4 separate regions of the Homo sapiens genome follow, and all the other regions are linked to region 4. The links are contacts of gene promoters, found by promoter capture Hi-C in blood cells and fetal thymus (Javierre and others, 2016). All regions are on one chromosome and are shown on one strand. Each heading gives the region's core, a stretch centred on a gene start or on the middle of the fragment in contact. The rest is flanking DNA. Distances are from core to core; before and after follow the strand shown.

Region 1 (6,610 bases), core at 1,554-4,053, 850 kb before region 4:
GCAAAACCTTATTTCTACAAAAAAATATTTAAAAATCAGCCAGATGTGGTGGCATGCATCTGTAGTCCCAGATAGGAGGCTGAAGTGGGAGGACCACCAGAGCACTGGGAATCTTGCCATTGCACTCCAGTCTGGGCAACAGAGTGACCCTATCTCAGGAAAAAAAAAAAAAAATTGAACATCACAATTATGAGTAAGAATTCTTGATACGTGAAATTCTGGCCCTATTACGTCATGAAATTCTGGCCCTATTACTCAAATTACAAATTCAGGAAAGTGAAATAGCATGAAAATAATCCAAATGGAATTTTATGGAATCTGAATAATTAGATTAGTGCTAAGGGACTACACATAAACAGTAAGAATCATGCAATTTACTGCAACTAGTATTACCTTTTTACAATTACAGTAAAACCATGCCATTTTTCTCTTCCCGATGTGTTGATTTTCTGGTGCCCACACCTGCCATTTGTTTTTAAGGCTTCTCCCTGCAGCAGATACGTTCAAGAGAAATTACAAAGTAGTGCCATATACAATACTGAGATGTTTTGTTTGGTTCATTCAGGGAGATTTTTTCTTTGAAATTTGAGCTAGCATTTTAAAACAGAGAGATTTTACATAAAACTCAGGGTTTCTAGCCTTTCTTGAAAAATGGGGAAGTCTGGCAACACTGGGGGACAATCCAGGTGAGGTGGCCTGCAGCGACTTCTAGGGAAGGGGGCTATGAACACCAGTTTAGCCACCAACTCATCATACACGGTGGACAAATTCCCCATACCCAGCCTGCTTGTAGGCATTTCAGTTTTCTACTTCTGATGTACAGTGTAATACTTACCTGGGGTGATGATCAAAACATTACCAACCAGTTCCCCCAGGCACCAGCCAGAACTGACTTGTTAGTAAGGTACAGGAGACTCAGTGCCTAGGGCTCACAATAATTTTTAGACCTCCCCACCAAAAATGTTTTGATTTCTTTAAGGAGGAAAAAAGTGGAGTGGAGAAAGTATTTAACAATACAAACAGCTGTGGAACCTGTGCATGCTGAAAGATAGAGACCTTAAAAAATGATTGCCCCAAAGCTACAGCCTCCTGTATTGTGCCAATGGACTGCTCCTACTTGGTGGCATTTTCATTCTAGACAGTTTTTAAACAGTTTTTCCCTGCTCTCTGGGTTTCAGGATATAGGCTGGTAAAAGGAACACTCCATTTGCTTCTTTGGCATTTATTGAGTTTCTAGCTTGTGCTAGGCTCTGAAGAAAGAAGATAAAAGGAGAGACAACTAAAAATCAGACTTAATGTCTTCTGCTAAGACAGATCCTAGCTGCTTCTAGGAATAATTAGGAAACAGCCTTCACGGAGGTGTGGTCAGTGTGGAATGGAAAATTCCTTCTGCTGCACTTGACTGCCTGCCCCACACCCACCCCACAACGTAAGTGTTATGAATAAGGTTTTAGTAGCAACAGCAGCTGCTCCCCCTTTCTCACACACACAAAAATTACCTGACTCACTTATTGATTATATACAGATTCCTTTGACAATAATAATTAGCAGTGGCAGCCAGGCGCAGTGGCTCACGCCTGTAATCCTAGCACTTTGGGAGGCCAAGGCAGGTGGATTGCCTGAGCTCAGGAATTTGAGACCAGCGTGGGCAACATGGTGAAACCCCTTCTCTACTAAAATACAAAAGAAATTAGCTGGGCATGGCAGCGTGCACCTGTAGTCCCAGCTACTCAGGAGGCTGAGGCAGGAGAAATGCTTGAACCCAGGAGGCAGAGGTTGCAGTGAGCTGAGATCACACCACTGCACTCCAGCCTGGGCAACAAAGCGAGACTCCGTCTCTACAAAAAATAATAATAATAATAATAATAATAATAATTAGCAGTGGCATTTTTTTAAAAATGATGTCAAAAAGTATATAGCCCAAGAATACACTGGTGCCATGTTGAAAATAATAGAAATTGCCATTTTAACTATGATCCTAGTGAGAAGGAAACCTTTACTGTGTAGGAATTATTTTATCAACAAGGTTAATAAAATCTAGGAGAGTCCAGATGGCGTACTGTGGAAATGGAAATGAGCGTTCCTGAGTGTGTGTGTGTGTGTGTGTGTGTGTGAGTGTGATAAAGGAGGACTCAAGGTTCCTGTGGCAGGTCATGAGAACCAGCACACGGCAAATCTGGGGAGCTCTCTCTTGCCATGGCCAGGCAACCCAAAGGTGGGCTTGACTTGGACCACCAAAGATAAGGCCTCACTTAACTTGTGACCTGGCTTTGGCCAGTGCGAAGCGTACATATCCCCATATTTACTGAAACTCACGAGACAAGACCAGGTAATATTACAGGCTGGGTGGAGAATGAAGTTATGAAAAGAAAATGAAAGAAGACTTTCCCTCATCAATTTCATCTGTTAATAACAAAAGTTGTTAGTAACAGTGGTCTTAAAACACATAAGGCTTTATTTTGACATTGCTATAGTGGTAAGATTCTATCAAAACAACATGGCATACCTTTCTTCTTTTTCAAGTTTTGTTCCATTTCCTTCACATTAACTTTGCATTATTTCCTGTTACTTTAATTGTTAGGTATTTTGTCTTTTCTGTTGTTACTGTGATTATAGTAAGTTTTTGTATTTATGTATGTCCTAAATAAGCTGTTTATTGATATATTAATGTTGTGTAATGTGTTTACTGAATTCTTTTATTATTTACATAGGTTTTCAGTTTATTCCCTTGAACTTTCAGGTATACAATCATATTTGCAAATAATTACCAGTTTGCCTCCTCCTTTCCCATTTTTATACTTTTTTCTTGTATAATTACATTAGCCAGTACCCCCAGAATAATGTTAAGAGTGGTGCTAATGAACATGCTTGTCTTTTTTTTTTTTTTTTTTTTATCGAGATGGAGTCTCTCTCTGTTGCCCAGGCTAGAGTGCAGTGGCACGATCTCTGCTCACTGCCAGCTCCGCCTCCCGGGTTCACGCCATTCTCCTGCCTCAGCCTTCCGAGTAGCTGGGACTACAGGTGCCCGCCACCACGCCCGGCTAATTTTTTGTATTTTTAGTAGAGATGGGGTTTCACCGTGTTAGCCAGGATGGTCTCGATCTTCTGACCTCATGATCCGCCCGCCTTGGCCTCCCAAAGTGCTGGGATTACAGGCGTGAGCCACCGCGCCCGGCCAAACATGCTTGTCTCATTCCTGACTCTAATGAGATGATTTTAGTATTCTTATGAGGATAAGGATAACTTTTTGGGTTGTACCTTGAATTGTACATTAACTTTTTTTTAGCTAACTGTGGAACTGAATAGAATTTAAAACTCTCATAAGAAAACTAAGGGACTGTGAGGATACACCAAAGAATGCCAATGGTCACACAGCCCTGTTAGAGAAACATTGTTAGAGGCTTGTGTCAAGACAAACCAGGACATCTCCCTGACTTGGGAAAATAGGGGAACAAAGTAGAAATGTCCCACTCTGCACACCAGTGAAAATGAGCAGTGTGGAACGCAGATTAGGAGGAGGACAGGTAGAAATCTGTATAGTTTCCTATTGCTGCTGTAGCAAATTACCACAAAGTTAGTGGCTTACAGCAACTCAGATGTATTTTATAGCTCTGGAGGTCAGAAATATAAAATGTACCACCAGGCCCGTGCTTATTTTGGAGTCTCTAAAGAATAATCCTTTTCTTTCCCCTTCCCAGCTTCTAGAATTCACCTGCATTCCTTGGTCTGTGGCCCTCTCCTCCATTAGCATCTTCTGACACTTGCCTCCACCCTTATCTCTTCTCCAACTCTGCTCCCTCCCTCTTATAAGGACCCTTGTGATTACATTGGCTCTACTATGACAATCCAGGATAATCTCCCATCTCAAGAGCCTTAATCACAGCTGCAAAGTCCCTTTGCCATGTTAGGCAATATATTTGCAGGTTCTGGGGATTAGGGTGTGGACATCTTTGGAGGGCCATTATTCAGTTTACCATAGGATCTATAATGAACTTTCTGTTTCTGTATTTTGTCCCTGGCTGAAAGGACACAGCTTTGATCCCACCAGAGAACTGACTTGGGAATGGTCCTAATAAATATAGTCATCTTTAATCAGTTGAGTTCTGAAATCATTACTTGGGAATTCAATGGGTAGAAGGTGTGGTTCCAGTGAGGATGGGATAAGACAGGTCCCTGTTGTCAAAGGGCTTGCAGGGCATAAAACACTCCCAGATGTATCACAATAAGATGCTAAGAAGTACAGGCTGAAATTTTAGTTTGATTTGTTCACTGCTGCATCTGCAATACCTAGAACAGAGTAAGCACCATGCAGGTACTCAATGAATATTTGTTAAGGAATGAAATGAGCACCAGAAACAGTTTTATGGAAACACAGGAGAAGATTGGTTTGGGAGAAGTCAGGAAAGACCTAATGAAGGATACTCTAGAACCACTGGGAGTGTCTGTCCAGCTCTCAAGATTTCACCTCTGGGGTTAATTAACTTCTGCGAGGGCAGGATGAAGACCTTAGCACAGTGTTGCCTCACTTTAAGAAGATTCCAATTATGCTAATTTGAAACAGACTTAAAAGTCTCCCCTTAAGTACCAATTGTGAAATAATACAGATCCCCTTTCATGCCCAATTTTTGCTTTTTTTTTTCCTTCAAGAATTGAGTAATTTCTATGCAGGCAGGCATAGAAATTACAAACATCATTTACTATTTTGCCACGTGGTGGCGCTGCTGCCACTGGTAAACAAAACACCCACCTTTGGTACATTTTCTGTGAACACACACACACAGTGATCTTGGTGCTCTTGCCACACTTGTTACAATTCAGACTCCTTCTAACTTCCTGTTGTCAACCAAGCTCTCCTTGAGCAATGATGCTTGTCCTGGTGCTGAAAAACGTGCTAAAAAATAGAGAGGAAGTTAAATGTAATTTTAAAAAATCATGGCATACTGTGTTGTTCATTTACTAGAAAACAGTGTGCAAAACATCAGGTCTAACAAAAATATGAGAAATAACTTTAGAGATCATCTCCCTACGGTCAGGCTTGCTCTGTTTCAGGAGGGCAGGGATGCCACTGAATCCCAGCATCCTGCACAATGCCTACCACAGAGTAGACAAAAAATAAATATTTGTTGAATAAAAAATGAACATGGAAAAAGATGACTGCCCTATAACTCCCAACAATATTACCTCACCTTTACCTCTACACAGAGACTAATAACAAGTTTCTAAAATCAAATTCCAAATTCTTAGGACAAGGTTCTGAATAGTCCAACTGGGGCTAACCGCTCATTCTTGGTCTAATCAATTGTGCCCAAAGAAAGTCCAAATGGCCCTCAGAGGCTCGCTGTGGAATGACTGAAGATTTCGAAGGTGGGGCAAAACTGTCGATTGTATGAATAATAGATTTCAGATGCATATACAACTACTTTTCAAATGTTTGGAGATGCTGCTGTGATTGATAGGCTATTATATTTCTCATTGTGATAAATACACATAACTTAAAATTCACCATTTTAGCAATTTTAAGTGTACAGTTCAGTGGCTTTAAGTACATTCACATTGTTGTGCAACCATTGCTACCATCGATCTCCAGAACTTTTTCTCCTTCCCAAATCGAAACTCTGTACAGTAACTTCCCTTTCCTCTCTCCCCTTGGTCCGGCAACCTCCATTCTACCTTCTGTCTCTATGAACTTGACTAGTCTAGGTACCTTACATAAATGGATTCATACAGTAACTGTCCCTTTGTGATTAGCTTATTTCACTCAGCATAACGTCTTCAAAGTTCATCCATGTTGTAGCATGTGTCAGAATTTCCTTCCTTTTTAAGTCTGAGTAATATTCCATTATATGTCCATACCACAGTGTTTATCCATTCATATGTCCACGGGCACTTGAGTTGCTTCTAGCTTTGGCTATTGTGAATACATAGTCCTATGAATGTTGTCAAAACATTCTTGAACTTAAAGCAGCTCTTGTCATTATGCATGCTCTGAATCAGTTGTCCTAAAAATACACCTACTATCATGTGGGGATCAGCAGAAAGACTGCCCTTAAAGGAGTCTTCATGCTTGACATCTTTTTAAATCTTAGAGCAGGAATATTGATATGGAAGGGGGGCAGGGAAGTGCTGGGAAGGGAAGGGCAGATCCCTGGTGAGGACTCCACCCCCGGGCCTGTGCCCATGGACCTAGGTGAGGACAAGCATTTTAGTTTTCCTGTCCAAATGTTCCATTTCCCAAGACCACCTTGGCCCCACCATGCCCCCATCCTGTGCTTATAAAAACCCCCAAGACCCTAGCAGGAGACACATAGGCGGCTGGACGTCGAGAGAAGCACATCAGTGGAGGAACACACGAGCGGCTGGACTTTGAGAGGAACACATCCACAGGAACTTGCATGCCACTGACTGGTAGAAGCAGAACGGCTTGGAGTTTGGCTGGGGCAGTCGGAGGAAAGCCCAGGCCACAGAGCAGCCTGACTCCAGGGGAAAACCTTCCCACTCCATCCCTCTTATAACTTCCCCCTTCTGCTGAGAGTTACCTCCACTCAATAAAACCTTGCACTCATTCTCCAAGCCCAGGTGTGATCCGATTATTCTGGTACACCAAGACAAG
Region 2 (6,376 bases), core at 1,602-4,101, 570 kb after region 4:
TTTTTTTTTTTTTCTTTTTTTTTTCCTGAGATGGAGTCTCACTCTGTTGCCCAGGCTGGAGTGTAGTGGCATAACCGCAGCTCACTGTAACCTCCACCTTCTGGGTTCAAGCGATTCTCCTGTCTCAGTCTCCTAAGTAGCTGGGATTGCAGGTGCCTGACACCACACCTGGCTAATTTTTGTATTTTCAGTAGAAACAGAGTTTTGCCATGTTGGCCAGGCTGGTCTCGAACTCTTGACCTCAGGTGATCTGCCTGCCTTGGCCTCCCGAAGTGCTGGGATTACAGGCATGAGCCTTTTGGCACCAGCCAAAAGCCATAATTTTATCAATATTATATATAAGTTGTTTTGTACAGTATGGCACCTTGGATTACCTGGCAAATTATAGTCACTTCTGGAATAGTCACTTCTACTTTACTACCTTATAACTTAAAATGGCAGTTTTAGGTGTTCCAAATTTTCTGTGCTCAGCTCACCTCTAAACATATTCAATACTTTAAATGGCTTTTGCAATTAACTCTTTTCACCATGGAAGCAAAGACCTAAATTCAGCTTAGGAAATGTGAAGTCACCTAGTTATTTTTGGATCTTACCAGAGGGTGATTATTTGGGTCTATTATCCAAGAGGTTTTTCAGGCCTGTCTATCTGAAAGAAGTAATATATAGTAGCATATAAAATTGACTAAACGGTGTTCCCTCAGGAATCTTTGCTCCTTCATTTTTTTAAAAATTGAGATATAATTTACATATGACAAAATGAATAGGTATTAAATGAATACCCTGCTGAATTTTCACCAATCCATACATTTGTGTAAGTTTCTATCAAAACACAGACCATTTTTATTTACGGATTCAAGTAAACAGTATCTTGCATCTAAAAACATATCCAGAAAAATTTAGATACAGAAAAGCTTTAGTTTGATTTTTGGCTCCCATTCCTTGATATTTTAGTATCCCCCCAACCCCCACATTGAAAACAGGCAATGAATGTGAAGGGGAAGAGATGACCAGAATATAAGGTAATCTGGAAAGGAAGGAATATCCGAAATATGATCCTTATAATATACTTATAAAGTAGATACACACCTAAATTAAGTCTATTCAGAAAACATTTTAGCTGTAACATCTGGGATTTCATTACATCTATAAAAGGTCCCTACAATTCTCTGTCTTTGAAGAAAATAATATTCTTAAAGATGTCCTGGCACCTGCACTCATGTTTCCTGCAGCACTATTTACAATAGCAAAGTCATAGAACCAACCTAAGTATCCACCAACATCTGTTACAGGAATATGCAAATTCAAGTATGAATACAAGGCAGACTCACAAGTTCAGAAGTAGGTGTTCTGTTTATGTCCAGAATGTTGCTACCACGCTTTCACTGCCTCAGAGTTCTGTGCAGCTTTAGTAACAAAGCCACAGAATGGACAGCCCTGTGAACAAAAGGACACTGGCCCACTCTCTGCTGGGGCTACTCACAGACCATTTATCCTTTGGCAAGAAAGGGCGTGGTGCTGCCACTGCAACATGGTTCTATTCAGTTCTCACAAAGTTAAGTGAGTGTCAATGTCATGTAGCCGTTGAGAGAAGAAATGGGTATTCAGAACCTGGTTTAACTCTAAAACTCATCTGTTTTCCCTACACTATTGAGCAACTCCTCTTGGCTGTGAGTTTCCTAAGGGCAAAGAGTATCTTACTCATCACTGCATCTCCAGTACTGAGCATGGAATGATACATTATAGGTACTTGAACATCTGTCTAAGAGGTTGGAAGGGATAGGATTAAGCTCACAGATGATAAAGACTGACTGAATTTGAATCCCAGTTAAATCCAATTCAAATCGAGTATGATCAAATCATAATTTGTCAGTTGTGTGAGCTTGGAAAAGTTACTGTATTGTGATTTCCTTATCTGCACATGTGGATGATAACAGAATTTACCTTACCAGGTTGCTAGGAGGACCAAATAAGTTAACACATAAAGTAGTTAGAACAAGGCCTAGTACAAAGCACTAAATAAATGTGGACTATTGTTATTATTTGTTATACAAATCAGCAACTAGGAGCAATTAGGTAAGATTATAAAGTATTTGGAACATAAAAGCTTAAAGAATCAACCAAATTACACCATATAAGAAGGAATCAGAAGTATAGCAAAAATAAAGAATTTTAAAAATTAAGAAATAAACATGTAAATCTATGCAGTGGAGATTTAGATTTTTGGTAATTAAACAGGACTCCAGAACAAAGTTTATATGCTTAAGAAATTTTTAAATCTCATGTTTACAGTATTACCTCAGGTAAATAAAAAGTGAAAATACTGATATATTTAACAAGTTATATTCCAATAAAAGTTCCTACGCCTTTCACTATACTGCATTCTTGGTTTCTTTTTCTGTTTTTACTGTTAATGCTTATCCAGTTCACCTGCCATTTAATATTTTCTAATTATATGCTTTCAGTTTCATTGCTACTGAAATCTATCTTAGATGCTGTTTCTAAATTAAATGGAATTTCTCTTGTAGCCTTCTTTCTTAGAGAAGAGCCTCTTCAAATTTCTGTGCAATTTAAAAATATCTGCAAAATTAACCTATTTTAATAAATCAGGAAAGTAGATTTTGTTTAAATAAAAAACCTATCAAAATGAAACCTGTAACTAATGAAAAAAAACTTATGGAAATTTACAAACACACACAGTAGCAGATGAAAAAATATAATAAATCCCCTTTGTACTCATCACCAAGCTTCAATAATTAACAACATTTTATTACTCTTGTAGAACATCTTTTAACAACAACAAAAAATAGGATTATTAGCCTCACTTGAAAGACTGAAATGGCCAAGAAAAATGCTGAGTAAATTTAAGTATCAGTTATAAGAAAATACAGCCTAGTGAAATTGGTTTATTTTATCTTTTCTTCATTTTAATAAAAATTAAAAAAATGGAATAAAGCTTTCAGAAGAATGAACACTTACTGGATGATGAGGTCGCAAATGAAAAGTATGAGGTGATACTACGGCTACAGCAAAGAAACGAAGAAATACAAAGCTGCTCACTGCAGAATACTGAACATGAGGGTCATCTGCAGGAAAAAAATGGTGAAATGTCATGCACAAAAACAATTAAAAAACAAAGATGATAAATTAAAAAATATAGAAAAGACATGTAAACTAGGAGAGCAACATAATTTGTCTAGTAAGAACTGAGTTGATGAAATGATAGTGATATTTATGACTCAATTAAAAGAAAACCCCTATGATTAAAAAAATCCAAAAGAAATAAGAAATAATATGAAAAAAGACAAAGCTGCTAGGTTTTCAGAAATATTTTAATTTGAAAAATACCTCTTTCCTCACCTGCAAGAAGAGACTGCTAAAATTACAACAGAAATAAAAGTAGTATCTAGCACTACCTAGTGGTAACACTGAATCCCTTAAGAGTATGATACAAGGCTACTTTCAGTTTTAGGTTCTTGTTTCAATATCCCCCCCAAAAATCTTGATAATATCAAAAGTTATGCAACAAAAACAATTAGGCAGAAATGTTTACTTTAAAAAGCTATCAACAGTCCATAAATAAAAATGCAGATGAACTGAAGACTACTGGTGGCTTTGATCATTCACCTACAACTTTCGTTTCAGACTGGAGTCAACAATTTACCCAACAATCAGACAGATGGTGGTGAAGCAGATGGTGAGGGAAAGAATCTTTAGGTTTGGTTCGAGTTTTAACTCTTCTAAGTCATTCAGTAGGTAACCATTAACAAGTCGTTTAATTTGTCATTCTTTAGTAATATCTGCTTTCTACCTGCTGTCTGCTCTGCCCTCCTTCCCCCATTCTTCTAGGGTAGTAAGAACAACAAAAACGAGAGAATATGAAACACTTATGGCAACAAAACTGTCACTACTATAGTCTACTGAGGATATGATAACCATATTAATAGTTAAGTCAACAAAAACATAACTAAAGAGATACATCTGCATGTATATAAAAACATAAAGTGTTGGCCGGGCGCGGTGGCCCACGCCCGTAATTCCAGCACTTTGGGAGGCCGAGGCAGGTGGATCATCTGAGGTCAGGAGTTTGAGACCAGCCTGACCAACATGGAGAAACCCCATCTATACTAAAAATACAAAATTAGCCAGGCGTGGAGGCACATGTCTGTAATCCCAGCAACTCGGGAGGCTGGAAACCTGGGAGGCGGAGTTGCAGTGAGCCGAGATTGTGCCATTGCACTCCAGTCTGGGCAACAAGAGTGAAACTCAGTCTCAAAAACAAAAACAAAAACAAAACCCAAAAAAACCCCATAAAGTGTTTAAGATCATTTATATAAACAAGAATTAAACTGCTAAAACAGATTTAAGGCCAAGATCACCAGTTAGTATAGAGTATAGTGAATGGCAGCATGTAGTTTGGAGTAGACTAGGCCCAGGTTTGAGGCCCTGCTTGCCTGTTGGCCACGCCACAGACCTTGGTAAAGTTACTCAGCTTCTCTAAACCTTAGTTTCTCACCTAATGGGAGTAGTACCTACCTCATGTGGTTTTGTGAAGATGAGAACAGGAGACAATGGAGGCTAACACACTAACACTGTGTGTGTTACTAAGTAGTCAATGTGGTTATCATGATTTAACTATTTAAAAATATAATTTCAATGAGCATTTCACCTTTCCGTGTGCCTCTGGCTCCCCTTATTTTTGTTATGAAGATTAGATTTAGTTACTTATTTGCAACTATAATTAGCAAAGACATTTAGATCTAAATTTATCTACATGTTAGACAACTCAGCCCCACTAATTTAGTAATGGGTCAATTTAGTAGAAGTGCAGTTAACTGCACACATGTGTGTACAGGGTGAGCACATGCTTAAAAGAACATAAAACTGCAAAATCTCTTCAGATGGTTACAGAAATAAACTTACAGTTTTGCACAGCTGGTTAAGACTGGTAATTTAAGTACCTGCCTAATTTTACCCTCCTACCCACCACCTCCCATTATAGACAGATCTGGAAAGCTACCTATAGCAAGTTTATTTACTTATCAGAAATATATTAAAATGTGAATAATTCTAAGTATTAGCAGCGACAGTAACACTTAATTTTATGAAAAGTTTCTAAGCAAAACCTTGACATAGCTACTTTTTCAAAATTAAAACATGCCAGTTACTGATATATGTACCTTAAAACTCTATGTATGTTACAACAGAAAGGTTTCTAATGTCTAAGACCATTTCTGTAAAAACCTCTCACCACCAAAACCTTATTAGCATTCTCAAACTGTCAAATCTAGTCAATTTTATGGAACTAAAGATTCTCACTATCTGAATGCATGCAGCTGGAAAAGATAGTTGGTATAAATAACAAAGGTATTTTTAACTCTCATAAGCATCTGGTATAAGTGCTTACTTATATAATGTTACAGTTCTGAATTTTTGCCTTTCTTTAATGGTGATTTTGATTTGCTCTTTGTATAAAGTTGCATTATACTGAAATAAAATGGAATATGTATTTTGAGATTTCAAGAAAAATCAGATTTCTTATGAGAAAGATAGAATCATTTTGAAAAACTAAAGAAGGTTGTACTTAAAAACCTTAGGCTGGGCGTGGTGGCTCACGCCTGTAATCCCAGAAACTTTGGGAGGCCGAGGCGGGCGGATCACGAGTTCAGGAGATCGAGACTATCCTGGCTAACATGGTGAAACCCCGTCTCTACTAAAAATATAAAAAATTAGCTGGGCATGGTGGCGGGCGCCTGTAGTCCCAGCTACTCGGGAGGCTGAGGCAGGAGAATGGCATGAACCCGGGAGATGGAGGTTGCAGTGAGCCAAGATAGCGCCACTGCACTCCAGCCAGGGTGACAGAGCAAGACTCCGTCTCAAAAAAAATAAAATAAAATAAAATAAAAATAAATAAATAAATAAAAACCTTAAATATCTCACAAACCAAACATGTAATTAATATCTATAAAAAAGTCAAAGAAAAATAAATGGCATGTTTTAGTAAAACAAGGCACTTACTAGGAAATCTCTGAGTAGCCATCTGCCTTAGAGAATAAAAGATATCACACATTACAGTGGGGCAGCTCATACTTGATTTTACAATTGTATTGAATAACTTGTCTACATAGTAGCGCAGATTCTCCTGCAGGATTTAAAAAGGTAAACATTAAGATTTTGATGTTCACACATCTTCAATAGCCTTCATGAAAGAAAAATGTAAGAAAATGAGGTTTATTAGACAGTCACTATCTAACATTTTTTAAAGTACTGTTACCCTTTTCCAAACTCATTCAGTTTAAGGACAATTTACATACTGACTTAATTTAATAAATTAAATTTAGATTTGCTAGGCGTAAGAGGTGAATCTATGAATAAACCT
Region 3 (6,529 bases), core at 3,191-5,690, 570 kb before region 4:
GGTGGTGGGCACCTGTAATCCCAGCCACTCAGGAGGCTGAGGCTGAGGCCGGAGAATCGCTGGAACCCGGGAGGCGGAGGTTGCACTGCACTCCAGCCTGTGCAACAAGAGAAACTCCATCTCAAAAAAAAAAAAAAAGAAATACAGTCATCAAAACATTTTTCCTTACAACACAGCAAATCTTACCACAAAGGTGACACAGGACACTGAGACTAGGCTGAGCCCACTGATAAAGGTGAAAACCTGCTCTCTCCATCCCTCCCCCTAACCCCATGCTGAAATTTCAAGAAGGGGCTTCTAACTCATTTACCGCACATCAGATTTCCTGAAAATACTCTCCATGGAGAGTTGGCAGGGACTGAATCATTTCATACTTTCTTTCCTCCACATGAACTGATTAATGATCATCAGCAAATCAAACAGTTTATGCAGGTTTATATTTACAAATATATACTAAAAGCTACCATCTACTCAACAAGTTTTTTTTTTTTAGAGGAAAATTAACATGAACTACACTTAGTTTAGGTGTTTTCTAAATAAACTTATTTACCCTTTCTCCTGTTAACAGACCTGAGGGACACCATAGGTGCCTACAAATAAAAGAGGCTCATTATGACACTAATTCTCAATGAGAGAGGACAAAGCCATGGCTGTAAGAATCACTACTTAATTTTTCATAAAACAACATATTTATAGTCAGCTCTTGTTTCAATTAAGTTTTACCTCTGAATTTATATAGCTTTCTATCTCTAGAAAGAACATGAGTATACTTTCTGAGAATTTTATCTGGGGGTCCTAGACTTCACTTTATATATTGCTGGCACAGTAACTTTCAATTAAGGTTTTCCTTTACAAAGAAAGGATTCAATGTTACCTCTGAGATGATCCTCACCCACTATGAAGATCACTAACAGCCATTACTAAGTGGCCACTACCTAGATCAGCAGTTGCCTAAATCTACCGAACTTACTTACATAAAAGCCAGCTATCACAAACTATAAATCTTTTTCTTTTCTCTTTCCTACATTTATTGTACTCTTTAATCTGTACACATCTTTCAAAGGGCCACCCATCCACTAACATACACATATCCATCTCATCTCCACAATTTTTGCTTTAGGAATTCCTCAATTTTTCCTAAGAAGAATATGTTATGAACATTTTGCATATGTACAACAAGAATGCTACATGAAAAGAATGAGACACTCTAGAACACCATAGATACTCTAGAGTTGATTTACTCTGGTGCTACTGAAGTACCATGCTTGCTTTTTACCCTTCATTGAACAAATGTAATACACAGAAATCAAGGTTTATAAAGCATCCATACAAAGAAAATGTAATTTCAACTAGTAAGTCCAAATATGGATGTGTCTTTTCTGACACAAATGATGTTCACTCATTCACCTACAACCAGATCTATATAACGTAGTGGTTAGGAGTGCAGGCTCAAGATAAATGCCAGTTCTACTATTATCTAACCAATGTAACCTTGGGCAAAGTAATTTTAAAATTTTGCTAAGCCTCATTTTCCTCATCTACAAATTGAGGACAACAACAGATCTGGCTCATGGGGTTGTGGGGTTTAAATGAAATCCTCTATGAAAAGCATGAACACTCGACCCCAATAGCTGCTTTAGTGAATGTTTAACATTTGGTCTGAGGAAGGCTCCAGTGTAATGGTGGAAGTCATAGCTACTTCAGGAAATTGTTCACTTTTAGACTGGTTTAGGTAACATTTTAAAAAGTCTAACAATATTAGCGAATACAAACACGTAATCAAAAGAATATTCCTATAACTCAAAGTTACTTTTTAAATGTAAATGTACCCCATAAGTATGCGTAAGAATTATGCTATTTTTCCAAATCTAACTCAAGAAGTTGTTTAGACATACCTGAAACAGAAAATTCCCATTTTAGCTCACTTGTTTTAAAAATTTCTAATTTATATATGGGGAAAATATGCATATTTAATTTCCACCCTACCCCCCCAAAGCCAAGTCTCTCATCTCAATTATGTTATAAAATAAAAAACTGACAAAGAATATCAAGGTATTTCACCTGGTACTACTAAATAGGCTATACAACTATCATAAATTAAAACTCTCTTTTGTTTGAGATATGTCATGCAATAATCCTAAATATACACAATGCACAAATACTTGCTCAACCATATTCCACTGATATTTTTCTGTCCTCAGTTTGACAGGAATATCAAATTTCCTTTCTTGACATACTTTCTGTTTGCTTTAAAATAACCATTGCACAGTGAGCTGGAATACATGGAGCCAGCACTTACTCATTTTAGTACAACACAATCTTCTCCCCTTCCTCTCTCAGAACTTTTGAGGGAAGAGAACTCAGGCAACCCACTCCAGCAATACTAAATAATTTTACATAATCCACAGACCCTATTTTTGTGACGTTGTAGATGTATATTCTGTTTCTTTACATCTCAAAGACTGCTCAAAGTTGTGTCCATGGTGTACTTTAACAATATTATTAATATTGCTTTCATAATATTATTTAATACTATTACATAAGAACATAAAAATGGCTCAACCACAGACATAGGTGGACTTTGTTTATATGTCAATTGTTTTCAAAAAATCATGTAAATAAAATCCTATTTCAAAAGCAGGAGGAGAGGTTAGGAAGGCTGTCATTTATTAATTACACATTCACACATACAAACAAACAAACAAAAATCCTGTGTAGTTAGTCTTTTCATAGTGTAAACTGCCCTTTGGGTTTGTTCCAGAAGTTTGCATGTTTCTAACAGAGTTTTCCTAAGTGTACAGCCATATAAATTTGGAAAAAGAAAAATTTTAGTGTTTCCATGTAGGAAACAAAAGCAGTCTTAGGGCAATCAATTTCCTATCCCTTTTGTTATATACATCACTACAAAGGATGATTGCGTGACATGGCCTTAATATGGCCATAAAAATGATTAACTTCTAGACTAAAAAAAGGATAACGCGCTAAATATATTCCACATATTTTTGCCTTGTAATTCCTGTAATTATTTTTCACTATCTTTATCTCCCAAAGAAAGATCTGGGAGCAATAAATCTTTCTCTCCAATAAAAAGCACTAACAATCAAAGGCGTTCCGTAAATCCAGAGAAAGTTTTGGCAACTAAGGCAGAATTTCTTCCGTCCCGTCCTTACTTCATGTATCTCCACCTAGGATATTCCGTTATTAATGCCAGTCAACAGTCACTGGCTAAAGCACTGGTCAGGTGAAGCTAAATAATAGAGGGTCTGGTTTTGTTTTTAAGAAAAACAAAAACCAGGTGATGAGAACCCTCCATACGAGGCATCCTAAGGTAAGGTGACGGAATTTTCCGACTGGAGTGTCGGAAACTAGCCTCTCGACTCCCGGAAGGAATGAACTGCGAGCCAGAGAGAAGACCAGGTCATTCATGCGGTCAGTAGCAAGGGCGGCGCTAAAACGCTGGGGTCGGGGCTCCCAAGGCGCTACCTAAACCCCGGACCCCAAGGCCAGAGCCACCCCCGACGGTGCAGCGCTCCGAGGGCGCAGCCCCAGCTCCACTCTCCCGCCAGCTCCACACTCACAGGGCAGAGGCGGTGAGGAGAAGACCGCCTGAGGCAGCAGGCGAGGCGGGAAGACACTCGGCGCCTGAGACAGAGGGAATGCCCCGATATAAGTTGAGGCGGGGGAGAGGACTAAAGGTCTGGAGGACAGGGGCGTCCAGAGGAGAAAGGGGCCTAACTCTCACCCTTGTCGCACGCCAGCAAGAAAAGCTTCTCATTCAGCGTATTCTCCTCCTTCACCTCCCGCACATCCTTCAGCGCCATCACCTCGTTCGGCGAGGAAGAGGATGGAGAGGAAGGCAGGGAGGAGGAGGAGGCGCCCGAGAGGTCCGTGCTCGGGTACAGGGCCGCCATCATCGCGGCCCATGAAGGGGGCAGGCCAGGAGACGGGGGCGGGGCCCCCACCGGCCCCGACCCCGACCCCGACCCCAGCCACGCCCCAGGGCTGGAAAAAGGATGAGTCGTTCCCACTGCTGCCTCGGCTCGAGGCCCGTTGGCCCCGAAGGGCGTCGCCTCCCCTGAGAACCAGCACTCGCCCTCCACTGACAGCCCCAAGTTGGTGGCGGCGCATGCGCGGCCCCGGGGCCAGCGACCCCTCCCCAGCCGCCGGCGCCCCGGCCGAGCCGGTCCGCGCCCGTCCGGGGACGACAGTGTGGCGCGCGCCAGGGCGGCAGCCGAGCACGGGGCCGTGCCAGGAGTCGCAGGGGCCGCGCCTGGGGCGGCCTAGCCCAGGAAGAGGACGAGAGATCTGTGGGAGAGGAGCTCCAAGAGGCGCTTCTGCGCACGTTGGGCTCCAGGGCTGTGGGAACCGCTGGCCCAGCTGCGCTCCGAGGAGATGTTCGCGACTCTGTCCTCACGTCATCCTCTGCTCCTCTGTAGCGACGACACTAGGGAGGAGCCTGCGGCAAGGGCGGGCTTGGGTGGGCGGGGCCTGCGGCAAGCGGGGCGTGGGTGGGTGGGGCCTGCGGTGGGGACGCACTGGGCTCCTGGAGCCCGCTGCAGCTTCCTTCGCTCTGGTGAGGTGAACCGCAGTCTGAGGAAGACTTCGCTCAATCGTCCCTTTCCACACCCAGGGTACTGGTTTAAGGTAATTAAGCAAATATGGAGCAGTATGTTAATTGAGTCTCTGACGACTTAATGTTTAGTCGAAATCCTTTGTGGAATTGTCCAGCTATTTCATATTCTGGTGCACTATGCTTTAAAGCACAATGGAGAGCCAGACTCGTGGGTTTGTATGTTGTACTCATTTTAGGCTGGAAATGAACTCTCATTTATAAAGGATATATAGATATATAATTATATTATGTTTAAATAATTTATACAAATATATAAATTTTTATTTCCATATTATTTCCATAGGTTTTTGAGGAACAGGTGGTGTTTGGTTACATGAGTAAGTTCTTTAGTGATGATTTGTGAGATTTTGATGTACCCATCATCGAGCAGTATACACTGAACCTAATTTTGTAGTCTTTTATCCCTCTCCCCCTTCCCAACCTTTCCCCGAGTCCCGAAAGTCCATTGTGTCATTCCTATGCCTTTGCATCCTCAAAGCTTAGCTCTCACTTGTGAGTGAGAACATACGATGTTTGGTTTTCCATTCCTGAGTTACTTCATTTAGAATAAGAATAATAGTCTCCAGTCCCATCCAGGTTTCTGCGAATGCCATTTATTCATTCCTTTTTATGGCTGAGTAGTATTCCATCATTATATATATATCACATATATATATACCACATATATATATATATATATATATATCACAGTTTCTTTATCCACTCATTGATTCATGGGCATTTGGGTTGGCTCCACATTTTTGCAATTGCGAATTGTGCTGCTATAAATATGCATGGGCAAGTATCTTTTTCGTGTAATGACTTCTTTTCCTCTGGGTAGATACCCAGTAGTGGGATTACTGGATCAAATGGTAGTTCTACTTTTAGTTCTCTAAGGAATCTCCACACTGTTTTCCATAGTGGTGTACTAGTTTACAGTCCCACCAGTAATGTAGAAGTGTTCCCTTTTCACCGCATCCACACCAACAGCTATTATTTTTTGATTTTTTTGATTATGGCCATTCTTGCGGAAGTAGGGTGGTACATACGGCATAGCAGTTTTGACTTGGAATTCCCTGATCATTAGTGATCTTGAGCATTTTTTCATATGTTTGTTGGCCATTTGTGTATCTTCTTTTGAGAATTGTCTATTCATGTTTTTTTGTTTTTTCTTGAGACAGAGTTTTGCTCTTGTTGCCCAGGCTGGAGTGCAATGGCGTGATCTTGGCTCACCGCAACTTCCGCCTCCCAGGTTCAAGTGATTCTCCTGCCTCAGCCTTCCGACCAGCTGGTATTACCGGCATGTGCCACCACACCCGGCTAATTTTGTATTTTTAGTAGAGACAGTGTTTCTCCCTGTTGGTCAGGCTGGTCTCGAACTCCAGACCTCAGGTGATCTGCCTGCCTCAGCCTCCCAAAGTGCTGGGATTACAAGCATGAGCCACTGCCCCCAGCCCTTTTCATGTTTTTAGCCCAGTTTTTGTTAGGATTTTTTTTTTCTTGATTATTTGTTTGAATTCATTGTAGATTCTGGATAGTAGTCCTTTGTCAGATGCATAGATTATGAAGATTTTCTCCCACTCTGTGGGTTGTCTGTTTACTCTGCTAACTCTTCCCTTTGCCATGCAAAAGCTCTTTCATTTAATCAAGTCCCAGCTATTTATCTTTCTTTTCATTGCATTTGCTTTTGGGTTCTTGGTCATGAAATCCTTGCCTAAGCCAATGTCTACAAGGGGTTTTCCGATGTTATCTTCTAGAATTTTTATAGTTTCAGGTCTTAGATTTAAGTTCTTGATCCATCTTGAGTTTATTTTTGTATAAGGTGAGAGATGCAGATCCAGTTTTATTCTCCTACGTGTGGCTTGCCAATTATCCCAGCACCATTTGTTGAATAGGGTGTCTTTTCCCCCACTTTAT
Region 4 (6,389 bases), core at 3,552-6,051:
TTCACCCATGTCCAAACCTTGAAGTACTAGAGAGTTGACACCCGACAGAGCAACTTTTTCACAGTGAGGATGGGAGCCAGTGTGTAAATATGCCCCTCTTCTGTCCTTCAAGTGGACAGTTTTGAAGTATGCTCTTCAAAACTTCTTGGAGAGTCCCGTCCAGGATCAAGCCTCAGTAGCCTCCAGCAGTGATCATCTCAGTAACACATCTCAGTAACCCATAACACATGGGGTTGGCTTTTCCTCCTTCGTGTTTCACGCTTGCCGTCTCCCACTCCAGTTCATTGGAATCATCTCCCAAAATAAACCAACTGCATGTAAGAAATTGTGTCAGGGTGTTTGTGGGGAAGGAGAACCAGCTAAGATCTGTGCATTACCAGTTGTTAAATATTTTGACTGTCACCCCTGTTCATAATCTAAGACCCTGTGGAAAATTTCACATGTACAAAGGAGACAGGAATATTCATAGCATCAGAATATGAAAAAAGGTAAAAACTCCCAAATGCCTTTCAGTAAGAGAATGGATTATCTGCCGGGCATGTTGGCTCACATCTGTAATCCCAGCACTATGGGAGGCCAAGGCAGGCGGATCACTTGAGGTCAGGAGTTCGAGACGAGCCTGGCCAACATAGTGAAACCCCGTCTCTACTAAAAATACAAAAATTAGCTGGGATTGGTGGCGCGCACCTGTAATCCCAGCTACTTGGGAGGCTGAGGCAAGAGAATCACTTGAACCTGGGAGGCAGATGTTGCAGTAAGCTGAGATTGCACCACTGCACTCCAACCTAGGCAACAGAGCAAGAGTCTGTCTCAAAATAAAATTAAAAAAAAAATAATAAAATAGAATGGAGTATGTAAATGTTATTTTTGCATTAGTGAAAATGAATGACCACCCATCAAGATAGATGACCCTCTTAAAATGTTGAACAAAAAAAGATTGGCAGATGAATAATAAATTTTATTCTAAATTTATGAAGTTCAAAAACATGAAAAGCTAAGCAATATATTATTTGGATATACATACACGTGTGTTAAGATTATAAAGAAGAACATGGAAATTATACACAGAATTTAAGATGTTATTTTGGAAAGGGAAAGTTGTGGGGACACACTGGTAGGGGGCACATGAGGTTTCAATGGTGTTAATAATATGTTGCTTAAGCAGGTACATGAGGGTTTATCATGATTCCTCATATCTCACATTTACTTTATATTTTTTAGGGTGAATAAAATATTTTATCCTAAAAATATTTTAGGTTTGATATTAAGGGGTTACTTTTATTAAGGGTGACTTTGAAACCTTTCTACTGCTCTAATGCAGTCATTCCAGAAAACTGGGGAGAGGTTGAATCCCTCCCTGAGGAAATTCCGAGGCTTCGCCTCTACTCTGTCCTATTAAGGTGATTAAACTGTACATAACAGGATTGTCTCTAGAAGCAAGACCCAGATTTAACACTTATAAGTGTTATTTCTTTTGTCAGTCACTAGATGGATTTGGTGTGAAAAGAAGATGCTTTAAAAAAAAATCTGAAACTGTTCTGACAACTGCAGATCTTTTCATGTGATAAAAGGTGTCACTAAGGACCTTCTTACTCCAAGTGTGATTTTTGGCTGCTGAGGCAGCACCAGCATCACTTGGAAGCCTGTTGGAGATGCAGAATTGAAGCCACACCTTACAGACTGAATTGTAAGATTCCCTAAGTGATTACTGTGCACCTCAAGGTTTGAGAGGCAGTGGTCCAGGAGTCTGGTACTTCCACCTGCAAAAGCAGTATCCAGTGCCAGCAGAGGGGGCAGCACGTGGAAATGCCTCAGGTTTAACTGTAATGGACCCGTCTTTTTCACAACCCTCTTTGTGTTGGCTATTCTGTGGCCCGCATATTTCTAAATAGAGTAGACTTTATTATACCTCTCTCCTCTTTCCAAATTTGCTGGGCTGTGGACTCTCATCTATTCAATAAAAACATTGAACTTCCATTAAGCACTGAGGAGATGATAGTGAATAGAATGATATGACTTTGACTCTAGAAGCTTACAGTCTAATGGGATGCAGGTAGCAAGTGAGTAATTACAAGTTTAATGAATGTTGGAAAGTCAAAGAAAATTTTATGGGAAAACAGTTGGAGATGGGGACTCCGGGGAAGCTTTTCTGGAGAAAGTGTTGTTTAAGTTTAGATGAAAAGGCATGTGCAGGTGAGTTGTGGGTGAACTGGGGGATTGTTCCAAGCATAAGGAATGCCAATGAATGGTGCTCTTTGGACATCTGTTTGTATTGCCAGTGCCTTGCATAGTTCTTGGCATACAATAAGTGCTTAATAAATGTTTGCAGAATCAATAAATGTTCTGTCACATTTCAGATGTCTACTCTCTGGCATTGGAGATGGTGGAAACTTTATTTTCCTTTTCAAAGGAAATAAGATCCCTTAATGGGGAAATAAGAAAGAAAGCTGACTGTTGTGCAAATTGCTAAATTGGAACTATGAGTGGGAATGAAAAATTGATTTACATGAATTTTCTTCCCTGTAGCAACTTGACAATTTATTCTGTTCTGGAGAATTCTCAGTTTTTGGCTTAAAAACCAAGCTGTTCCTCCTTATTCTGAATTTCTTGGCCTGCTGTGAAACTAACATTTACTGTCTTTTACAACATGCCCTGATTAGGTCATGGAAATTCACAACTAAATCAAACTAGGATATGGAAAATTTGAAACTTTCACTGCCCATTTTATGTAATGGCGTTGGAAGGTGTTATAAAACATTGACTTTTAAATCTTTATTTTCAAAAGCTATATTATACGATGAATATAATAATTGCCATCATTTATTGAACACTTACTACATGCATTACATAGCAAAATCCTCATACTACCTCTGCAAGAGAGTAAGTTGAACCATATGAAAATTGCCCAATATCAGCAATTTCATGTGGTTCAACCTAGTATCTTCAGACTCTGACCTATAAAGAGGTTAGGGAATCCCTCATAGCCATAACTTCACTCCAAATTTAGTACTGAATCTTTTAGTACTATCTTTTATAGATAAAGAGATCCTAAGATAGTTACAGCTCCTCTATGACAGCGACCCCTTTCCCTACATTAGCCCAAGCACTTTGTGTGTGTACTTCCATCATGGTTATTTACGCATTGAATTGAGGTGGTTTACAATCCATTTCCTCTGCTACACTGAGTTCCTTGAGGGTGGATGTTTTGTCTGTCTTGCTCATTTTTGTATACGTAGTACCTAGAGTGAAAAGTATTTGTTGAATATAACTTTAAGTTTTCTTAAAGTTATATTTTTTGTGGAAACTAAATTTTTATTGATTTGTTACTGGAGAATGTGAAGTAATCACTGGGGTTTTTGCATTTTAGAATCAGTCAGTGGAGTACTGCATTTGACATTCTTGGACTCTCAGGACTAGTTACATGCAATTATGCATACAATTGTCTCTCCACCCTGCCCCAGAGAAAGATCTGAAAGTGCTCTCTTACCTATCTCATCTCCTTTAGGCATTTGCTTAAATACCACCTTCTCCGTGCTACCTTCCCAGATCACTCTATTTAGGACTGAAGCCATTCCTCCAACACCTCTGCTTATATTTTTTTCCCATAGCACACATACCAGCATGTAATATAGTTTTTGTTTTACGTATTCTTTTGCATATTATCTTTCCCATCCTGCTAGAATGTAAGCTCCATGAAGGCAGGAGTTTTTGTCTCTATTTTGTCCACTGATGTCTCCCCATATCAAGAATAGTGTTTGGGGCCGGGCGTGGTGGCTCACGCCTGTAATCCCACCACTTTGGGAGGCCCAGGCGGGAGGATCTCTTGAGTCCAGGAGTTCCAAACCAGCCTGGGAAACATGGCGAAACAGCCGGGTGTGGTGGCGCGGGCCTGTAGTCCCAGCTACTCGGGAGGCTGTGGTGGTAGGATCACCTGAGACTGGGAAGTCAGGGCTCCAATGAGCCGTGATCCTGCCACCGCACTCCAGCCTCGGTGAGAGCAAGACCCCGTCTCAAAAACAAACAAAGTGGCATATAGAAGATCTATAAGATTTGACTGGAGTAAAATGAGAAAGATCTAATCGTTTTAATGCGCTGTTCACACGGGGTTTTTAACTTCGGCACGAACGAATGAACAAAATCTTTTCATATGGAACCAAGTGTACGGGTATTTGGGGTGTGTGCAGTTTCCGCGGGACAGAATGACCTGTCCTGGTTTGGGTATTAACTTGCCTTGATATTGAAGAACCTCCACATTCCCAGTGGTCTCTAACTCATTGTCTGAATAATTTCAAGGTGTCCCACAGTTGGCCCCACGCATAGCCTCAATCACGATCACTCGCCCCCCTGTCCCTTATTGATGCTCCCCCAGGGCGACCCCGCAAAGGCCTGGGGACCGAATGGAACTGCCCCAGTCCCCCTCCTTCCAAGAGAGCTGGGGTTTTCTGGCTTCGGGGTCAGTTGGAAAAGAGATTCCCACCCAAGTCGCAGGGTGGGAGTAGGGGGGATGAGATAGGAGTGATGAAGGAAGTGTGTCTAAAATTCTAGGCCTCAGGCCCGCAGCTGTCCCTGGAGGCGGCGGGGAAGCGGGGTGGTCGGGTCCTGCGGAGGGCTCCCAGGGAGGCCACAGGGGGAACCAAGGGGCGGTGGCTGAGTGCACGAGTCCCGCCCCTCCATCTGTTGGCCCCCTACTCTCAAAGGGAAGCCTGGGGGCGGGGTTTGTTTACTCCGTGCACGCACTGCCGGCCCGGCCAATCCGTGGGGAGCGGCGCCAGGCGTCGCACATTCTGAGGGCCAATCGGCGCGCACTGTGCTGCTCCGCCGCCAAAGCTCGCGCGGGGGAAGCGGGGCTGTAGCTGGGCAGGGAGAGGGCGGACGAAATCGGTAGCGATCTCGGCTGCGGCGCTGCCGCAGCTGCCCGGCCCGCGGGGCGCGCCCTGACCCTTCATCTTTGGGCAGGCTCGAGGGCGCGCGCACGGTTGGCGTTCTGGGGCCTCAAACTCCTGGGCCTTGACCGGGCAGGCCGCGTCTCCCCGGGTGTGAGTCCACCGGGACCCGGCCGCCGCCTAAGCGCGGGCGCCACAGAAGCGGCGGCGCCCGAAGACGCGCTCCTGGCTCGGCCCGACAGCCTCGCTTGGCCGCCAGTTCTTCTGCAGCCGAAGGCGGTAAGGTCTGGGGCGAGGGCGCGGGCCCGCGCGCGGAGGGCCTTTGGACCCGGCCGGGCGCGTTCCTGGGTAGGTTTCCCTCCCTGCGCACAGGGGCCCCCTTGTTCCCCCACGAGTCCCATCTGTTTAGACCTGGGTTCTCCAGGCCTGGCCGGGTAACCCGTGAGTGTCTGGGCCAGAGTCGAAAGCAGAGGAGGGTCACCCTCTTAGTGCATAGAGCAAATCGGGGGAGGTAACGTCCCTGAGTCACGCCTCGTGGAAGAGGGGAAGGGCTGCTTTCTACTTTCTCGTTCTCTTCAAAGAAGGATGGCTTCTAAATCTGGTTTTCCGATTTTTCCCTTCTCCTTTCATGACTCACAGGCCTCTGTGTCCACCAGGTGTTTTGTTTGTTTTTAAAGAGTTTCTAAGCTTTGTGTGCTTGGAAGAACCTCATATGCCCCATAAAGGAACTTTTCTCTGAAGTAGAGGATCGCTTTTTGGGCCCAGACTCCTTTGAGAAAATCTGGAAAGCCAAGGTCTGTCTTCACAAAGAAGTGTAAGGGTTTTCCTAGGATCTCGCTGAGAGACAGTACAACGAAGTGGATGAGCGCCCCAGTCTCTCTTACCAGCCTGTGCTATCTCCCATTGTGTGATCTCGGTTTCTTCATCTGTAAATTAGATGCATCCACCTATTCGGTGTGTTTCGGGGAGTGAATGGACTAATGTATGGAATGCAATCGTAAGAAAATCCTCCACGTATTAAATGCCTTGCATTAGTTAGGCACTTTTATTATTGACTGCCATGGATGCTGGTTTAGAAAAAGACCCTATATTATTTCCCTTTTAGTGTTGAGACAGTGAACGGGCTCATTCCTTTTCCATATTCACTGCTGAAGCTGCCTTTGAGCCCATGAATACTTTTATCTTTTCCTCATTCCATCTCAGAGGGCACAGACTCCCTCTCACTTATTTGCTTTCTTTCAGTAAGGCTCTCTTTTAGCTCAGCCTTCTCCTTCCCCTGTCTCCCCGAGATCTGAGTTTTGTGTCTTTTCATTTGACTTGCACAACCTACTTTTTTTTTTTTCTGGGCCATGTGTTTTCTCTTCATGGCTTGAATTTATCTTCACCTAATAAATAATTTACCTGTTTTTTTTTTCAGCTCGTGAATATATATTCATCTATTTTCTATATGGCATAATCATGTCCCTGTCTCTCTTTAAAAGTAGATATAAAAATAGTTTAATTGAT

What was found. The method cuts DNA at HindIII sites, captures the fragments that hold promoters and counts their contacts. A CHiCAGO score of 5 or more calls a contact.
Region 1: a fragment that was not itself captured here is called in contact with the fragment with the promoter of TFDP2 in region 4 in 1 of 17 cell types (naive CD4 T cells); the score reaches 5.6 in naive CD4 T cells.
Region 2: a contact is called between a fragment that was not itself captured here and the fragment with the promoter of TFDP2 in region 4, in 1 of 17 cell types (total B cells). The highest score is 5.1, in total B cells.
Region 3: a contact is called between the fragment with the promoter of TRPC1 here and the fragment with the promoter of TFDP2 in region 4, in 14 of 17 cell types (fetal thymus, activated CD4 T cells, erythroblasts and 11 more). The highest score is 17.0, in fetal thymus.

Annotation. Positions count from the first base shown.
Region 1 is chr3:142,992,278-142,998,887 of GRCh38, reverse strand. PAQR9-AS1 (PAQR9 antisense RNA 1) reads right to left here. Exons shown (of 5, transcript NR_125393.1): 3 at 4,748-4,891; 4 at 394-488. Among named protein-coding and RNA genes, the nearest start is that of U2SURP, 6.0 kb to the left of the region's middle. The HindIII fragment of the contact is 9,415 bases long and covers 1-6,610 here.
Region 2 is chr3:141,573,707-141,580,082 of GRCh38, reverse strand. RASA2 (RAS p21 protein activator 2) reads right to left here. Exons shown (of 24, transcript NM_006506.5): 14 at 6,016-6,139; 15 at 2,977-3,083. Among named protein-coding and RNA genes, the nearest start is that of RASA2-IT1, 52 kb to the right of the region's middle. The HindIII fragment of the contact is 209 bases long and covers 2,747-2,955 here.
Region 3 is chr3:142,721,945-142,728,473 of GRCh38, reverse strand. TRPC1 (transient receptor potential cation channel subfamily C member 1) reads right to left here and starts at 4,440. Exons shown (of 13, transcript NM_001251845.2): 1 at 3,743-4,440. The coding sequence starts at 3,914. RefSeq lists an enhancer at 3,022-3,888 and a silencer at 4,147-4,196. The HindIII fragment of the contact is 1,344 bases long and covers 3,770-5,113 here.
Region 4 is chr3:142,147,956-142,154,344 of GRCh38, reverse strand. TFDP2 (transcription factor Dp-2) reads left to right here and starts at 4,801. Exons shown (of 13, transcript NM_001178139.2): 1 at 4,801-5,162. RefSeq lists silencers at 4,526-4,575, 4,686-4,895, 4,956-5,025, 5,256-5,305 and an enhancer at 4,656-5,156. The HindIII fragment of the contact is 3,426 bases long and covers 2,147-5,572 here.